Regions from separate parts of the Homo sapiens genome. Here region 1 is linked to region 2. The links are contacts of gene promoters, found by promoter capture Hi-C in human tissues and cell types (Jung and others, 2019). All regions are on one chromosome and are shown on one strand. The core of a region is centred on a gene start or on the middle of the fragment in contact, and the rest is flanking DNA. Distances in the headings are between cores, read along the strand shown.

Region 1 (4,297 bases), core at 1,148-3,647, 41 kb before region 2:
TCCCGGTATCTCCTCTGCATTTACAGAACAATGAAAAAGGTCAAATACGGGAATACTGCACAATCATAAAAAAAGAATTAAATCATGTCTTTTGCAGCCACATGGATGCAGCTGCAGGCCATTATCCTAAATAAATTAATGCAGAAACTGAAAACCGAATACTGCATATTCTCACTTACAAGTGGGAGGTAAACATTGGGTACACATGGACATAAAGATGGGAACAATAGCTACTAGGGACTACTAGAGAGGGAAAGGGAAGTGATGGTTAAAAAATGACCTATCAAATACTATGCTCACTACCTGGGTGATGGGATCATTTGTACCCCAAACCTCAGCAACATGCAATTCACTCATGTAACAGACCTGCACATGTACCCTTAAACCTAAAATAAAAGTTGAAAAAAAAGAGACATATGTGGTATTCAGTTGGCAACATAGAATTCAAAGTAGCTTCTTTGAAAGAACCAAAGCCATGGTTTCAGAAATATCAAATCATTGCTTCTATCACTGGCTCTACCCAAAGAGTGATATCAGTGTTGGAGACATGCTAGGAGAAATTGAAATGATCTAGGGTCAATGGTCTCATTGTCTGAAGTGTTATCCGAGCTCATTGTCTCACAACCAAGAAAATTAATAAGTGTGGACACAAGGGTGAGGTTGGAGCGAAAGCTTAATAAGCAAAAAAAAGTTCTCCACAGTAAAAAGGAGGCCAAAATGGGTTGCCGTTTTTACAGTTGAATCCAAATTTGGATTCAATTTATCCCCAATTAAGTGTTTATAGTTTCACTGATTACAGACTATAGGCGGACTTCTTTTTTTCTTTTTTCTTTTTTCTTTTCTTTTTTTTTTTTTTTAAGATGGAGTCTCGCCCTGTCACCCAGGCTGGAGTGTAGTGGTGGTATCTCGGCTCGCTGCAACCTCCACCTCCCTGGTTCAAGCAATTCCCCTGCCTCAGCTTCTTGAGTAGCTGCGATCACAGGCGCAAGCCACCACGCCCGGCTAATTTTTTGTGTATATTTTTAGTAAAGACGGGGTTTCACCATGTTGGCCAGACTGGTCTCAAACTCCTGACCTCAGGCAATCCACCTGCCTCAGACTCCCAAAGTGCTGGGATTACAGGTGTGAGCCACGGGGCCCAGCCAGGCAGACTTTTTAACATTCTCTGTAGTTATACTTTAACTAATTTTAATAGTGAGACCCTTATAAATGAATACAATGTTTCAATGCAGGATTACTCTTTTAATCATCAAAACAATAATGTTGTTTTCAGGGGTAGTGGGGTGTGAAATACCTAAAGATGAAGCTTTCAGAAGAAATGGAAAATAGGACTCTAGGAGTAGAACATGGAAAAAAAAACATTTTTAATAATTTAAGAGTCTCGGAATCATTCAGTGATAATACTAGTAATCACAATTTTGGTAATAAATAAAAGTAGCTTGCAAATTTGGATATTAAATGAGAATTTCATATTGCTCATGAATTGCTATAAACGTTCAAAATATAAGGCATTGTATGCCATTCTAAAGACTGTCACCAACAACTGGAAGTAGATGCATTTATGTCATGCTTACAAAGAGCTGGAAGTATTGATCTTAAAACCAGAAACGAGAGGAGTGGGATAGAGAAAAGAAAAAATGTGGTTCGATTACCTTCCTGAAGCCAAGTTGAAATACCTACACAAAGAAATTGTTCTTTTCCTGGCTGGAAGCTTGCTGAATGATTGAATGTGCTGACCCACACTAGTGCTGCTCAAGGAGAAGACTGCATTATTTCCCATGATCAGAATTACTTAACATAAATTTGCTATGTAGAAAAGGAACTAGAATTGAGAAAAAGACTTTGAGATAAACCTTATATTAACCAGTGGTTTTAATGGCATTGTGTTGATAAGGAACAACTCTAGATTTGTTTTCATAACAATTTTATAAAACCATTGGGTCTTATATACAAAAAGCACATATTTATTATATGCAGTATTTATTCAGCAAAGTGATTCATTTTGAGTCAATACACATTTTAAAAGCTTTATTGAGGTGGTATGGAAGAAACTGCATAGATTTAAAGTATACAATATAAGCTTCGACACGTGTAAAATATTTTATATTTTCTTTCTTTCTTTTTTTTTTTTTTTTTGAGACAGAATCTCGCTCTGTTGCCCAGGCTAGAGTGCAGTGACACAATCTCAACGTGCATGAACTGCAACCTCCGCCTCCCAGGTTCAAGTGATTCTCCTGCCTCAGCCTCTGAAGTAGCTGGGATTACAGGCGTGCACTACCACACCCGGCTAATTTTTCTGTTTTTAGTAAAGACTGGGTTTGCCATGTTGCCCAGGCTGGTCTCAAACCCCTGGCCTCAAATGATCTACCCACCTTGGCCTCCCAAAGCGCTGGGATTACAGGTGTGAACCACAGTGCCCAGCCTTATTTTATATTTTCTAAGAATTATATAAAGCTGAAATCATCACTGCAAGTACAATATTGAACATATCCAGCACTACCAAAAGTTTCCTAATGCAACATTGTATCCCTGCTTACTATACCTCTGTCACTATACTTCAGGAATCACTTACCTGCTTTATGTCACTGTAGATTACATTTCTATTTACTATCACATTTTCTAGAATGTTATAGGAATAGAATAATGCAGTATTCTTTTTGACTAGGCTTCTTTCACCCAGCCTAATTATTTTGAGATTCGTCTGTACTACTGCCTATGTTAACAGTTTCTTTTTTTTTTTTTGAGACAGGATCTTGCTCTGTCACCCAGGCTGGAGTGCAGTGATGCAATCTCAGCTTACTGCAGCCTCCACCTCCCGGATTCAAGCTATTCTCATGGCTCAGCCTCCCAAGTAGCTGGTTGTCTTTCAACTAGTAAATTCTATCTGAGCATTTGCAAGGTCTAATCTAAATCAAAACTACCTCATGCATCATCAAGGATAGAGTGAGAGAATTACAGATCATCTGCTATTAATGCTTTCATTCTCAGCAATTTTGATTTTGTACAATAACCATTCCCTTTCAAAACAGATAATTTGTTATATGAAAAAAGTTATATTTGGAATCATTAGAAACATTACAACTGAATATTTAATTTTTTCTTAATTTTCAAGGTGCCTATTTGATTGAAACAGAACCATAAAAATACTTTATTAACTGTCATCTACATGCTTAAGATGGTATCATAGCTATCACTTCATAATTTGTTAGCAATGCATTATTAAAACTGAGTGGTAAAATAAAGGAATTGAACATAAACTAAGATTTGATATAGTACTGTGGTAAACAAGAATAGCTTTTGCCTGCTTTTGTCTACATACAGGAAACCAGAGAATGAATAAAGATGATAATAACATTCCTACGTCAATAAGAAATATAAATCAGTTCTGTTCATACATTTGAATGTCTTAGATATGTGATCATGACAATGATGACAATGATGACAATGACAAAAAAAGATGAAAATGGTGATGAAAATGACACAATTATGGTCCTGGGGATGAAAGTCTTACACCATTAACCAATTACATTATCTGAGGAAAGCTATCTGAGATCATGGGTCCTGAGTTTCCTCAGAGATAAATGAATACATGGAAGGATACTTTCAGACTGAAAATCAAGTGATACTACAATTTTATATTATGAAGATATAGTCTAGATTTTCAGAAAGTGGAGATGAGATTTGTATACAGAATGAGAAGAATTAATGTCTAAGTATTAGGTTGTTTCAGAACTCCTGAAAAAAATAAATCTCGTTTAGTTGGGATCAAATCTCTCTCTCTCTCTCTCCCTCTGTGTCTCTCTCACACTCTCTTCTCTTTCTCTCTCTCCTTATCTCTCCCCACACTGTTTTTATCCAGATGCATGAATATAATAAGATTAAAACTTGTGGGCAAATTGTTTATCTGAAGGACATGAAAGGATTATCTTAATTCAAAACCAAAATGCAATAGTCAGAATTGCTGTATGCTGTGGAGTAAAATGAACTTCCTTAAAATCATTTACTGTATATGTGGTTGGGAGTGAAAATAGAGAATTAAACCCAAACCCTCCCATTGAATTATACTCACAATCCAAAAGTTTATTAAAATATCTAATTTCTTTCTTGTAAATATCTTTGACTCTTTACCTGTATTCTAGTCCCACTGTCACATTTATACACTAAGATTTAAAATTTATAAATAGTTTAAAACAAAGGCCCCCTCACCTGCACCCTGATAATAAGACACCCCATATTCCATATCATTTCCAAGAGTAATCTCCCTAAAAACAAGAAGTTAACATTAAATTTTTCATCT
Region 2 (4,148 bases), core at 891-3,390:
CAACAACAACAAAACACCTCTGATCCCCGAATCCTCGGGGAGACTAATTTGAGTAATAATAAAAGTGGGGTCTCCTGCACTGCCAGCTCTGCATGAATTACAGGATTCATTCTTTCTCTATTGCAGTTCTCCTGTCTTGATAAATCGGCTCTGTCTAGGCAGCAGCAAGGTGAACCCATTGGGCGGTTACACCAATAGCTGCTAATTATTTTTTTAATCAATTAAACATGTATCTCTGTTGAAAGTATAAAATTCCTTTTTGGATTAGTTTTGAAAGGAAAAAAAAACCTAAACCTAAACCTCAATTAAGCCTTTACATCTAAATAGCAACAACAGGATATCAATATGACAAGGATGCAATCAAGCAAGGCATTATTGCACTTTTCCCTCCATGAATAATGATAGAATTTCCTGCTTATTAATTGAGCTGTTATAATGAAAACATAACATCATTTTTATAATAGCCAGAAAAGTGATCAACAAAAATTAAGTGATTAAGGGTAACACTCCCTATGATATGGAAACATATCTGCCAAAATGTTCCTTTATTAAATGCTCCTTTATAAGAGTAAAATACATCTTAAGTATATACTATTTTTGATTTCTAAATTATACCCCAATAAAGCTGGAAAAGAAAAAATAAAACATTATTTGATTGTATAAATTTATTGTATTTTTATACATTAAATACATATTTCATAATTTTATTAAAACATAATGCTTATTTTGTGTTAATCTGTATTATATAATATGCACTATTAGTTTAAATAAATTATATGTTAAATAAATGGCTTATCTGATTACACTTTTTTTTGCCAAAATATTTGGGAAACATAAAAAGAACACTAAAGAGAATAATTAGTTATAATTCACAAACCAGAATTTCACATAAATAAAATCATATTTTGTGGGTCTTTTTATTAGAATGTTGAAGGGATAACAGATGTAAAGGCCAAGATAAACAATAAGATGGACAAATTGACACTGCAATTAAATATTGCAATTTATAATGATAATTGAATTAGTTAACCTGATAGCATTTTTAAAAAACTTGTGAGCACAATACTTGCATTATGATAGTTATTCTTTACTTAGCATTATGAAATAACCTTTTGCTTCTTGATGCCCTAACACTTAACAAAGCCTAAGTATAAAAAACAAAAATGGGATATGTAGAAAACTTTTTTAATCTCAAAAAGATGCTTAAATATCAATTAGATTGAGCTTTAGTTTTGTAAGAAAATAGATGTCATAGCTATTTTTATTACTTATGAAATATTAAGTATGCATAATATATTAATTGCAGTTAATGGAAGTAAATATTCCACAGAAGACAATATTTGAGGTCCTCTGTGGGCTAAAAGATGAACCTAACTGCTCTCAAGGGAGATCGACTACAGATAAGAGTTAGGAGGCTACTGAGAAATCCAAAGGCGACTTCCAGAAATCTTTCATGGTCTATAATACAGCAGAGATGTGGCCTGGACTTTGCTTTGTTCCCAGGAGATCAAATCTTTTGAGGTCAAAACAAAGAAACTTGAAATATTGTAGATATAAGTATGACCAGGGGGAACCCAGATACCAGAATCTAACTCATAATATCCAATGTGTCATATATTTACCTATTTTCTCTTTAAATTTTTTTTTAACTTCTAGCTCAACATTATTGAAGAGGAATAAATTTTTTTTGAACTTCTAGTTCAACATTATTGAAGAGGAATATAATGTATTTCCACATCTTCCAAAGGTTTCTGGCATTCCATTTTTATTTCCTGAAATATATCCCTTAAACCATTATAAAATAGAGAAAAACATAAAATAAAATTTGATTAGTGTGAACTTTGGTAGTGTCCAGAAGAGAAGCAATAATTTTACATTCTATCCATCATAGCAGAAATTTGACAATCTAAAATATGGAGGAGACAACTATCAGGATTTTAGCAGACAACATCTATAGAATAGAACATCCAGCAGTTCTTGAATAGCTGAAAATTAACTGACTAGGTTAGAATGAATGTGAGAGGGTTTCCTATACAATTCTGGATATCCTTATGAATGAATGGTTGCATAAGGAAGAATGGTCTTATGTGGGACAAAATTTACTAGGAAATAAAACTTTTTCCGTAAAGCTCTGAAAGGAAGATGTTCAAATGGAAGATGCACTAAGCTATAATCCAAGTGAGAGAGTTGCTGAGATCTAAGGCAAGTAGTTACTTTTCCAATTTATGCTTCAGAGCAAAATGAAAAATAGATAAATATCACATGTTCCCTTAAGCTCAAAATTAAAATGTCTGTATGTAGAATATATATACACATTTCTTGTGAGTCATAGAAGACATCAAACATTAAAGATTTTGATGGAATTATAAGACAAACCAATAAGTAAGCGAACATGTTCCCTATTTGTTGAGTAAAATAATTACATTATTTACTCTATCTTATAGTAAATATACATCATATATAAGATGTTCTATTATCTTGACAATTAGACCAAAATATTAATATTAAAAATAAAATGAATAAATAAAATAACATTATTTTAATATAAATATATGTTTTATTTGCTAAAAATCTTTAATTGGTTTCTCATATCATAAAAAGAATAATGGGTTATTAACAATCTTCTAATTTTCACTTTTATCTTTTGATGAAGTTAAGAGCACCCATTTTATGTTTAGGTGGTAATATCCTTTAATGTATACATGATGAAAAAAAGAAAAATGTATGTTTCATGTGATTGTTTCAACAAAAAAGATAATGATATTTTGCATTAATGGGACACAAAGCAGGTATTATACATTTTATTAGCTGTTTCTCAGTGATGTGGCTTATTGTCTGAAGATATCCTAATTTCTGTTAGATTTAAAGTAAGAGAACTAGTAAATAGGCTGGACTTAGAAAAAAATATTAAAACATAATGCAAACAAGATAGTCAAAACTGTCAGACTGTAGAAGATTTTTAGAATTGTATTGATAATTATATGGATCATGATGAATTATATCTTTTATCTATTTTCCTTAATTATCATTCTACCAAAATATCTTTAAAAGAACAAAAAGGAGAGTGGAAGAAGGAGAGAGAGAAAGGACGAGACATGAACCACACAATGGTCACAGAGTTTGTCCTCCTGGGCCTTTCTGATGATCCTGACCTTCAGATTGTGATTTTTCTCTTTTTATTTATCACGTATATATTAAGTGTTACTGGAAACCTGACTATCATCACCCTAACCTTTGTGGACTCCCATCTGCAGACACCTATGTATTTCTTCCTCCGGAACTTCTCTTTCTTAGAAATCTCATTTACAACCGTATGCATCCCCAGATTTCTGGGGGCAATTATCACCAGGAATAAGACTATTTCCTATAACAACTGTGCAGCCCAACTCTTTTTCTTTATCTTCATGGGGGTGACTGAATTTTACATTTTAACTGCCATGTCCTATGACCGCTATGTTGCCATCTGCAAGCCCCTTCATTACACATCCATCATGAACAGGAAACTCTGCACTCTACTTGTGCTGTGTGCCTGGCTAAGTGGGTTTCTGACCATTTTCCCACCCCTTATGCTTCTCCTCCAGCTGGATTACTGTGCTTCCAACGTCATTGATCACTTTGCATGTGACTATTTTCCCCTCTTACAACTATCTTGTTCAGATACATGGCTCCTAGAAGTAATTGGTTTTTACTTTGCTTTGGTTACTTTGCTGTTCACTTTGGCATTAGTGATTTTATCTTACATGTACATTATCAGGACCATTTTGAGAATCCCGTCTGCCAGTCAAAGAAAAAAGGCTTTCTCCACTTGTTCTTCTCACATGATTGTCATTTCCATTTCTTATGGAAGCTGTATATTCATGTATGCTAATCCATCTGCAAAAGAAAAGGCATCATTGACAAAAGGAATAGCTATTCTCAATACATCTGTTGCCCCCATGCTGAACCCCTTCATTTACACTCTGAGAAACCAGCAAGTAAAACAAGCCTTCAAAAATGTGGTCCACAAAGTTGTGTTTTATGCAAATCAATGAATTTTTGGTCAAAAATAAAGAGCACTTTAAAAAAACAATTAAGCAAAATTTTGAAATTTCTCAATATCTCTGTAAGTATCCTTGCTCTCCTAGTTTCTTTATATGCTATGTTATAGT

Evidence for each region. The method cuts DNA at HindIII sites, captures the fragments that hold promoters and counts their contacts. A contact is called where the count stands out against the background at its distance.
Region 1: a contact is called between a fragment that was not itself captured here and the fragment with the promoter of OR6C3 in region 2, in 9 of the 25 tissues and cell types used here (H1 embryonic stem cells, adrenal gland, heart left ventricle and 6 more).

Annotation. Positions count from the first base shown.
Region 1 is chr12:55,287,447-55,291,743 of GRCh38, forward strand. No RefSeq gene overlaps it. Among named protein-coding and RNA genes, the nearest start is that of OR6C6, 7.0 kb to the right of the region's middle. The HindIII fragment of the contact is 6,606 bases long and covers 1-4,297 here.
Region 2 is chr12:55,328,606-55,332,753 of GRCh38, forward strand. OR6C3 (olfactory receptor family 6 subfamily C member 3) reads left to right here and starts at 2,141. Exons shown (of 2, transcript NM_001388498.1): 1 at 2,141-2,202; 2 at 3,052-4,031. The coding sequence starts at 3,096. The coding sequence ends at 4,031. The HindIII fragment of the contact is 15,026 bases long and covers 1-4,148 here.